Regions from separate parts of the Homo sapiens genome. Here region 1 is linked to region 2. The links are contacts of gene promoters, found by promoter capture Hi-C in human tissues and cell types (Jung and others, 2019). All regions are on one chromosome and are shown on one strand. Each heading gives the region's core, a stretch centred on a gene start or on the middle of the fragment in contact. The rest is flanking DNA. Distances are from core to core; before and after follow the strand shown.

The links. The method cuts DNA at HindIII sites, captures the fragments that hold promoters and counts their contacts. A contact is called where the count stands out against the background at its distance.
Region 1: a contact is called between a fragment that was not itself captured here and the fragment with the promoter of SERP2 in region 2, in 1 of the 25 tissues and cell types used here (dorsolateral prefrontal cortex).

What each region holds. Positions count from the first base shown.
Region 1 is chr13:43,079,373-43,083,075 of GRCh38, reverse strand. All of the region lies in intron 4 of DNAJC15 (DnaJ heat shock protein family (Hsp40) member C15), which reads right to left. Among named protein-coding and RNA genes, the nearest start is that of LINC00400, 32 kb to the left of the region's middle. The HindIII fragment of the contact is 3,912 bases long and covers 1-3,396 here.
Region 2 is chr13:44,371,656-44,375,234 of GRCh38, reverse strand. SERP2 (stress associated endoplasmic reticulum protein family member 2) reads right to left here and starts at 1,411. Exons shown (of 3, transcript NM_001010897.3): 1 at 1,126-1,411. The coding sequence starts at 1,209. It overlaps LOC105370297 (a long non-coding RNA gene), which reads left to right and starts at 1,669. Exons shown (of 2, transcript XR_001749858.3): 1 at 1,669-1,838; 2 at 2,038-3,579. The HindIII fragment of the contact is 4,304 bases long and covers 1-2,487 here.

The DNA.
Region 1 (3,703 bases), core at 191-2,690, 1.3 Mb after region 2:
ATACTCCATATTAGTAAATACTAATATTATAAAGGATTACTATGCAAATAATTTTAAAGTAAAAAAGGGGGAGCTTTAAAAACCTATTTCATAAATTTCATCACCATGTGGCCCTCTAAATAATGAGATAAGTTCAGTAAAATCCAAATTTCATATATATATACACACACACACATATATATACACACATATACGCATACGCACATATATGTGTGTATATATATATATATAGGTGAATGTTCTGCTGAACCATTGTATTTTTTTAGAAGATATATGGCAAGGTCCATTTTATTCTAGATATTAAGTTTTAGTTGAGCACATAATACAAAATCTGAAAATTACTCCGTCAAAATTTCCTTGATAATTAATTACAATGCTCTGAAAATCAGTTCCACATAGTTTTGTACATAAAACTCCACAACGCATTATGCATACTGAGGTCCACCAACCACTGAACTAAAGTAAACACAAGGAAGGAAAGTTCATATGCACAAGTATGGCATTCAAAACACTCTGCCTTTAAGATAATAATGATCAGACTCCTAATGGTGAGCTCTGGAAATGAGACCTATTCTGCTTTGCTGGCAGTGTTTATTTCCTTTTAGTTATTATTATATTAAGTCTCTTGGACCTTAATACATTTTAATATTAATACATGTTTGTTGCTGTAAAGATTAAACAACATGAGAGAAGCCTAGTTTTTAAGCTTAGTATAAAAACTAAATGTAGCTATGATGATATACCTCCAGTATAACTTTAAATATGATGGTACCTAGACCAGAGATTTCAAACACCTCCCTAGAATGCATCTGGCTGGCAGTGGGGGTATGTGGAGTGGTGTTCTTGGACCTTCTGGCAAATGGAGCAGTTTTGGTTTCATCTTTTTTTTTTTCTACTACTGAGCTTTTGAGTAACATATAGTGATATGGTTTGGCTCTGTCTCCACCCAAATCTTATCTTGAATTATAGCTCCCATAATCCCCTCATGTCATGGGAGGGGAACCGGTGGGAGGTAACTGAATGATGGGGGCGGGTTTTCCTGTGCTGTTCTCATGATAGTGACTAAGTCTCATGAGATCTGATGGTTTTATAAAGGGCAATTCCCCTACACATGCTCTCTTGCCTGCTGCCACTATGTAAGATGTGCCTTTGCTCCTCCTTTGCCTTCTGCCATTATTGAGGCCTCCCCAGCTATGTGGAACTGTGAGTCCATTAAACCTCTTTTTCCTTATAAATTACCCAGTCTTGGGTATTTCTTCATAGCAGCTTGAGAATGGACTAATATAGTTTATAAACAGAATTCTACAAAAGTTTTTAGAAAGCTTAAAAATCATAAATGTGCCAGGCATGGTGGCTTCTGCTTGTAATCCCAGCACTTTGAGAGGCTGAGGCAGGCGGATCACAAAGTCAGGAGATCGAGACCATCCTGCTAACACGGTGAAACCCCGTCTCTACTAAAAATACAAAAAATTAGCCAGGCGTGGTGGTGGGCGCCTGTAGTCCCAGCTACTTGGGAGGCTGAGGCAGGAGAATGGCGTGAACCTGGGAGGCGCAGCTTGCAGTGAGGGGAGATCGTGCCACTGTACTCCAGCCTGGGCAACAGAGCAAGACTCTGTCTCAAAAAAAAAAATCATAAATGTGCATCATTTCATATAATACACAATACTGTTGATAGGTTCTTAAAAACTGTGATTTTAAGCAAAATGATGTATGGCAGGTCCCTGAATAATGTCATTTCCTTCAACATCCTTTCATTGATTTAAAAAATTGGTTTCATTATAGTCATTTTGTTTAAAGTCACAGTTTACAAGAACCCATGGGTGATATTAAGTGAGGACTTACTATACCAGGTATAAAAACAATTTTCCTGGGCAGCTTTGTAAAATAATTCAGGCTTTTTGTTACAGACATGAGTCATATTGCAGGACACTATTCTCTTGCAAGGAAAAACATAAGGCAAAGACTCAAATACACATTTCAATAAACAATTCTCATATGCAATATGTCAGAATGTATAGTATCATCTAGAACACATACAGTATTTTTAAAATAGGTTATCAAAAGGATCGGCTCCATTTTGCCTTCACCTACCTGTTATATAGTCTACACAGCTGAGATTCAATGAATATACTCACATCTTAAAATTATCTTGTCATAATCAACATTGCCTGACTGAAAAGAAAGGGCTAGAGGAAAGCAGATAAGTTTCATTTACCTTTCCACTTAATGTGTTAGGACAAATATCTAGCTTCTGCGTTCGTGACAGACATGGAAAGAAACAGGAGCCAAATTTTTTTCAGCACCTGATATTTGGTAGGTATTATGTAAAAAGGTATCATCATATCATTCTTATATTATTCCAACAAGGCAGAATATTATTACTCTCAATTCAAAAATGAAGAAGCCAAAGTATAGAAAAGCTAAAAACAAAACAAAACAAAAAAGCTTGACCAAGATCATACAGGGCAGCGCCTAAGCGACAGACTCAGGGCAATAATCTGCTTTGCTTGGCTGCTATTTATTGAGTAGTTAGTAAGTACCATGTGTTGCAGACATATGTTCACTGTGGCAATATTTACAACAGCAAACATATGGAATCAACCTAAATGCCCATCAGTGGTAGACAGGATAAAGAAAATGTGGTACATAAACACCATGGAATACTACGCAGCCACAAAAAGTAATGAGATCGTGGGCTTTGCAGAAACATGGATGAACTGGAAGCCATTATCCTCAGCAAACTAATGCAGAAACAGAAAACCAAATATCACATGTTCTCACTTACATGTGGGAGCTAAATAGTAAGAGGGGAAAAACAGACACTGAGGCCTACCTGAGGGTGGAGGGTAGGAGGTAAGAGAGGAGCAGAAAAAATAACTATTGGGTACTAGGCTTAGTACTTGGGTGACAAAATAATCTATACAACAAACCCCTGTGACACAAGTTTATCTTTATAATAAACCTGCACGTGTAACCCTGAACCTAAAAGTTTAAAAAAGAAAAAAACTTCCAAAAAAAGAAATTCACATATATTATATAATTTAATCTTCACGGCAACTTTATGCAGTTAAAACTAATCTATTATCTCTATTTTACAGATGATTAAACTGGGGTCACCCATTTAATAGGTGTTAAACTGGTATTTGTACGCATATATACTTGATACCAGAGTCTGTGCTCTTAATCACTGAATTTTCCAAGTGAATTTTATACAGCTTTCAGTTCTATGGGATAAAACTTTATAAATATATATCTTAAGAGAATGTAAAAATACAGTCAACTCCTGTCTGTCCTAACAACGTAAGTGCCCTGCATAATATTAAAGGATATCCTCAAAAACCTTTGTACTTGGTTTTATAATGTTTTATACTCAGATTTCAAGATAATCAACAGGGTATTTTGGGAGGCCAATAAAAGTTCAGGAAAAATAACAATGCCATTCTGAATGATATTAAGCAAGAAATAGTTGGCAGTATAGCAAACTTCCTAATCTGACCCTCATGCTTAAAATCATTTCCTATTTTCTATTGTCTGGTAAGGAGAGATCTCATCTAAGAAGAGATGAGATCTCTTAAATAAAGCACCAAACTAAACTGGGCTCCTCCTCCCAACTCTTGTTTTTTCTGCTAGGTCATAAGAAATAATAAAATGTTTTGGCTTTTTAAAAAATCTTTAAATTTTAAAAAATTTACAAGATATCAAA
Region 2 (3,579 bases), core at 162-2,661:
GCTTAGTTAATCAAACCAATATAGTTTCTTTGGCTAAAAGGAATTGATTCATCAAATCTGCAAGCTTTCCCAGCCAAACTCCAGGCTTCAGCTGGATTTCCACTTAACTGTACGGGGTAACAGATCCCAGGCGCCTTTGCTCATATACTTGGAGACCAACTTCGCCAAACTACCCATGCGACTCATGCCTCTGAATGTCCAAAGTCACAGGCCTCGCATTTTCTGTTGATGATAATCTGCTTTGCTAAAAGAAACTCCTGAGTGTAAGGCACAGGTTTTACTTAAAAGTCCAGTTGCAAAGCTTGAATTTACAGTTCTAGGGACACCGAATGCCTGACAATAAACTGGTCTCTAAAGTTATACCATGAGAATGAGTCTGAATTCACCAAGTGGAAAGAATAGGAATGCTGCCCTTAGACTTTAGCCTAGGGGCTGAGGGAGGTCTCGCTGGAAGAGAGGTAAAAGAGAAAAAAGAGGCTGGAGGGAATGTGGGTCCAAATCTCACTCCCCATTTTGAGCTCTTTCCACACCTCCAGTGAAACCGTCACAAAGGGGCTGGAAAGAAAACTTGATCCTGGTGCAAGTCTGTTGGGGAGGGAAGACAGGTGGAGTCCGGGAGGAGATGACAAGTGGCCTCCATTTAGCCATTGATTCATTCATTCATTCAACAAACGTTCTAGAACATACTAGGTTCCAGGCTCTGTGTCATGCAACGTTCTAGAACATACTAGGTTCCAGGCTCTGTGTCATGCAGTTGACTTAACTGGCCCCTAAGGATGAGGCTTTCCGTCTTTCTCCGGGACAAGGCCCAGCTGTCTCCCGGGCAGGGGGACAGGGGGTGCGGGTCGGGGAGGAGGGCTCCTCTGCGCCTCCCTGGTAGCCCAGGTAGCCACTCCCAGAGGGGCCACGACCAACCAGGGCCCTCTCCGCCCACGAGGACGCCAAGCAGACCGCGCCGCCCTGAACCCAGCTCTCAGCCCCCACTCTGCAGGACCCCGCAGAAGGGGCGGGCCGGGAGCCGGGAGGCCGGACCCTGCGCCGCTACCCGCCCGGCCCCGCCCCCACCTTCCGCCCCACCCCGCCGGGCTGCAGGGCTCTGCCTGGCCGGCGCCGACCCCGCCTTACCAGGGTTTTGGCTACGTTCCCCCTCTGGGTGATGTTTTTGCTGTGCTTCTCGTTAGCCATCCGGATCCGCTGTTTGGCCACCATGGCTTGTGCGCTCTGAAATGCTCCCACCTGCAAGGATTCCCCCTGCGTTAGCTCCTGCGACAGGGCCGAGCGCGTCCCGCCGAGGCCCCCGCGGCCCACCCGGGCGCTGCAGGTGGCAAGGCGTGGCCCCGAGCCCTGCGCACCCCGCTCCCCGAGCCCCGGCTAGCCGACTCCAGAGAGAGGCCGCAGCCCGGACGGAAGTAATCTCTCATCTCAGGAAACCCTTTCCGACTTCCTCGCCATCCTTCCGGTCCCCGCAGCCACCTACCCCGCGCGGCCACCGAGGCAGGCGCGACCGCACGTCCTCCCGCGCCGAGCGGCCGGAGCGCAGCGCGCAGAGCCGGGGCCCTGCAGTGTCGCGGTCCTGTAGCCGAATGCTGCGGGGCCGAAGGTTCGGGCGACCACGGCGTTTGTGAGCGCGTCGGGGACGGGGACGCGGCCCCTCCTGTGTTTGTCGGCCGGTGACCCACCCCAGCCCCGGGGAAGGGATGAGGGCGGCCGCGCTTCAGGCCGGGCCGCGCGGTCTCCCCTGCACCGCCGCCCCCTGGACGAGGGCTGGACCCAAGGCGGTGGTCAGGGACCTCAGAACACAAGTAGAACCAGTCCAGGCCCGGGCCCGCGCTGCCCGGGTATGGTCCACCAAACGAGCCTTCTCTTTAAGGGTCTCGAGAAGGGCCCCACGCTGGGGGACCCCACTGCAGAACTTTTCGTGAGGGCTGCAAGGAGGGCCGCGTTGTAAAATAAAGAGGAGACACGAAGCGGCATCCCCTGAGGGTTGGGGATCGGGCCGTGAGGATGGAGTTGGGACAGGCCTTTTTGCTTTGGTAGTTGTAGGGGTTGCATTGGAAGATGGGCCAGCGGCAGAGCGGAGCATGCAGGAAAGAGGAAGAGGCCTTGGACCTGCAGCCCAGGTCGGATTTGGTGGTTACTGTCTAAATCTGAAGCTTTGGCCTGCCTTGACTCCCCACCCACCCAGGGCAGCTTGGACCTCTCTCTAGCCACCCTTGTCCCGAGGGGTCTGAGTGTCTCCCAGACTAAACTGGGCATTTTCTGCAGTGGAAGGATAAAAATGGAAGCGTTTACGCGCCTCCCAGACACTGGTATTAGGGCTCAAGAGCTCTACAGATTGCCTGGGGAGGTAGGGGTGGAAGGGGTTCAGTTCCTCACTTGGAGTTAGCTCTTAGAAGCTCAGAAGAGTGGAGGCGAAGAGGGGACATTCAGCCTGGGAGATCTGGGGCAGCGGGAAGTGGGGATACCGGGTCGGGGTGAAGGCAAGCAGCAGCACCCCCAGCATGGGGAAGAAGGCCTGAGGCTGTCTCTGGCCACTGCATCTCTAGGCCTTCTCTTGGAGCGGGAGGTGGCTGGGTTTCCAGGGAATTTTGTGTGAGTAAAATTTTCCCATGTCATTGGAGAGTTAGGAAGAGCTCCTCTTTTGGGGCCTTTTTCCAAGCGGGTCCCCCTCACCCCGCTACAGGCTTCTTGTCACTCAGGCTTCAATAAAGGCCATTCTGGGGGCTGCTTGCTGTAACCTAGAAGACAGAATTGCCTAGGATCATTAGTAGAGTCATTTTTTTTTTTTCCTACTCTACAGGCCAATTAATTTGAAACAAGCTTCTATGGTCTTTTAACTGTTAGCATCACCACTGTTGTAACAGGACCATAAACCCAGTCTGCCCCACTCTAGTCCCATGTTTTTAATAACTGTTGGCTCTTTTTTAGGGGTTTGGGTGGGGGGATTCCTACCTCAGTGATCCCTGCTGAGCCTGGCTGTTGTCTGTGGTCCAGAAGGTTCCTTTACCTGACTCACTCCTCTCAGATCATGTCCAAATACCAGGAGACTGACCCAGGTCCTCACCAGGTGAGTAGAGGTCTGGCTCTGAGCGACATTAAGGAAAAGACACAGACAGAGACTGTTTTCTCTTTGGGTCTTCACATTCAGTGAGTACAGTTCAGAAGTGTTCTTAACTGAGAGAAGCCCCTTTTGGGGAAAATTTTTCTTTACTGTTGACTCCTTTTTCCTGCTATGCTTCACTTTTCCGGCATTTTAAATTAGTTTGTTTTAATTATGAGTAGACTACATCTACACAGTAAATAGTCAAACAGAAATAGGATAGAAAATGAAAAGTAAAGGTCTCTCTTTCCTTGCCACCCTCCCCAAAAAGTTCCCACGGTTCCTGGGTTGCCCTTCCAGTATATACAAGACTATTTGTATATTCCCTTCTAAAAAAAAACGGAATAGTAGTATGCAAACTGTTCTGCCACGTGCTCTTCTAACTTAATATATCAACATTATCATATCACTTATATATGACCTCTTTCTTGTAGTTGTGTTATGTCTCATAGTATGATTATACAGTAATATATTGAACT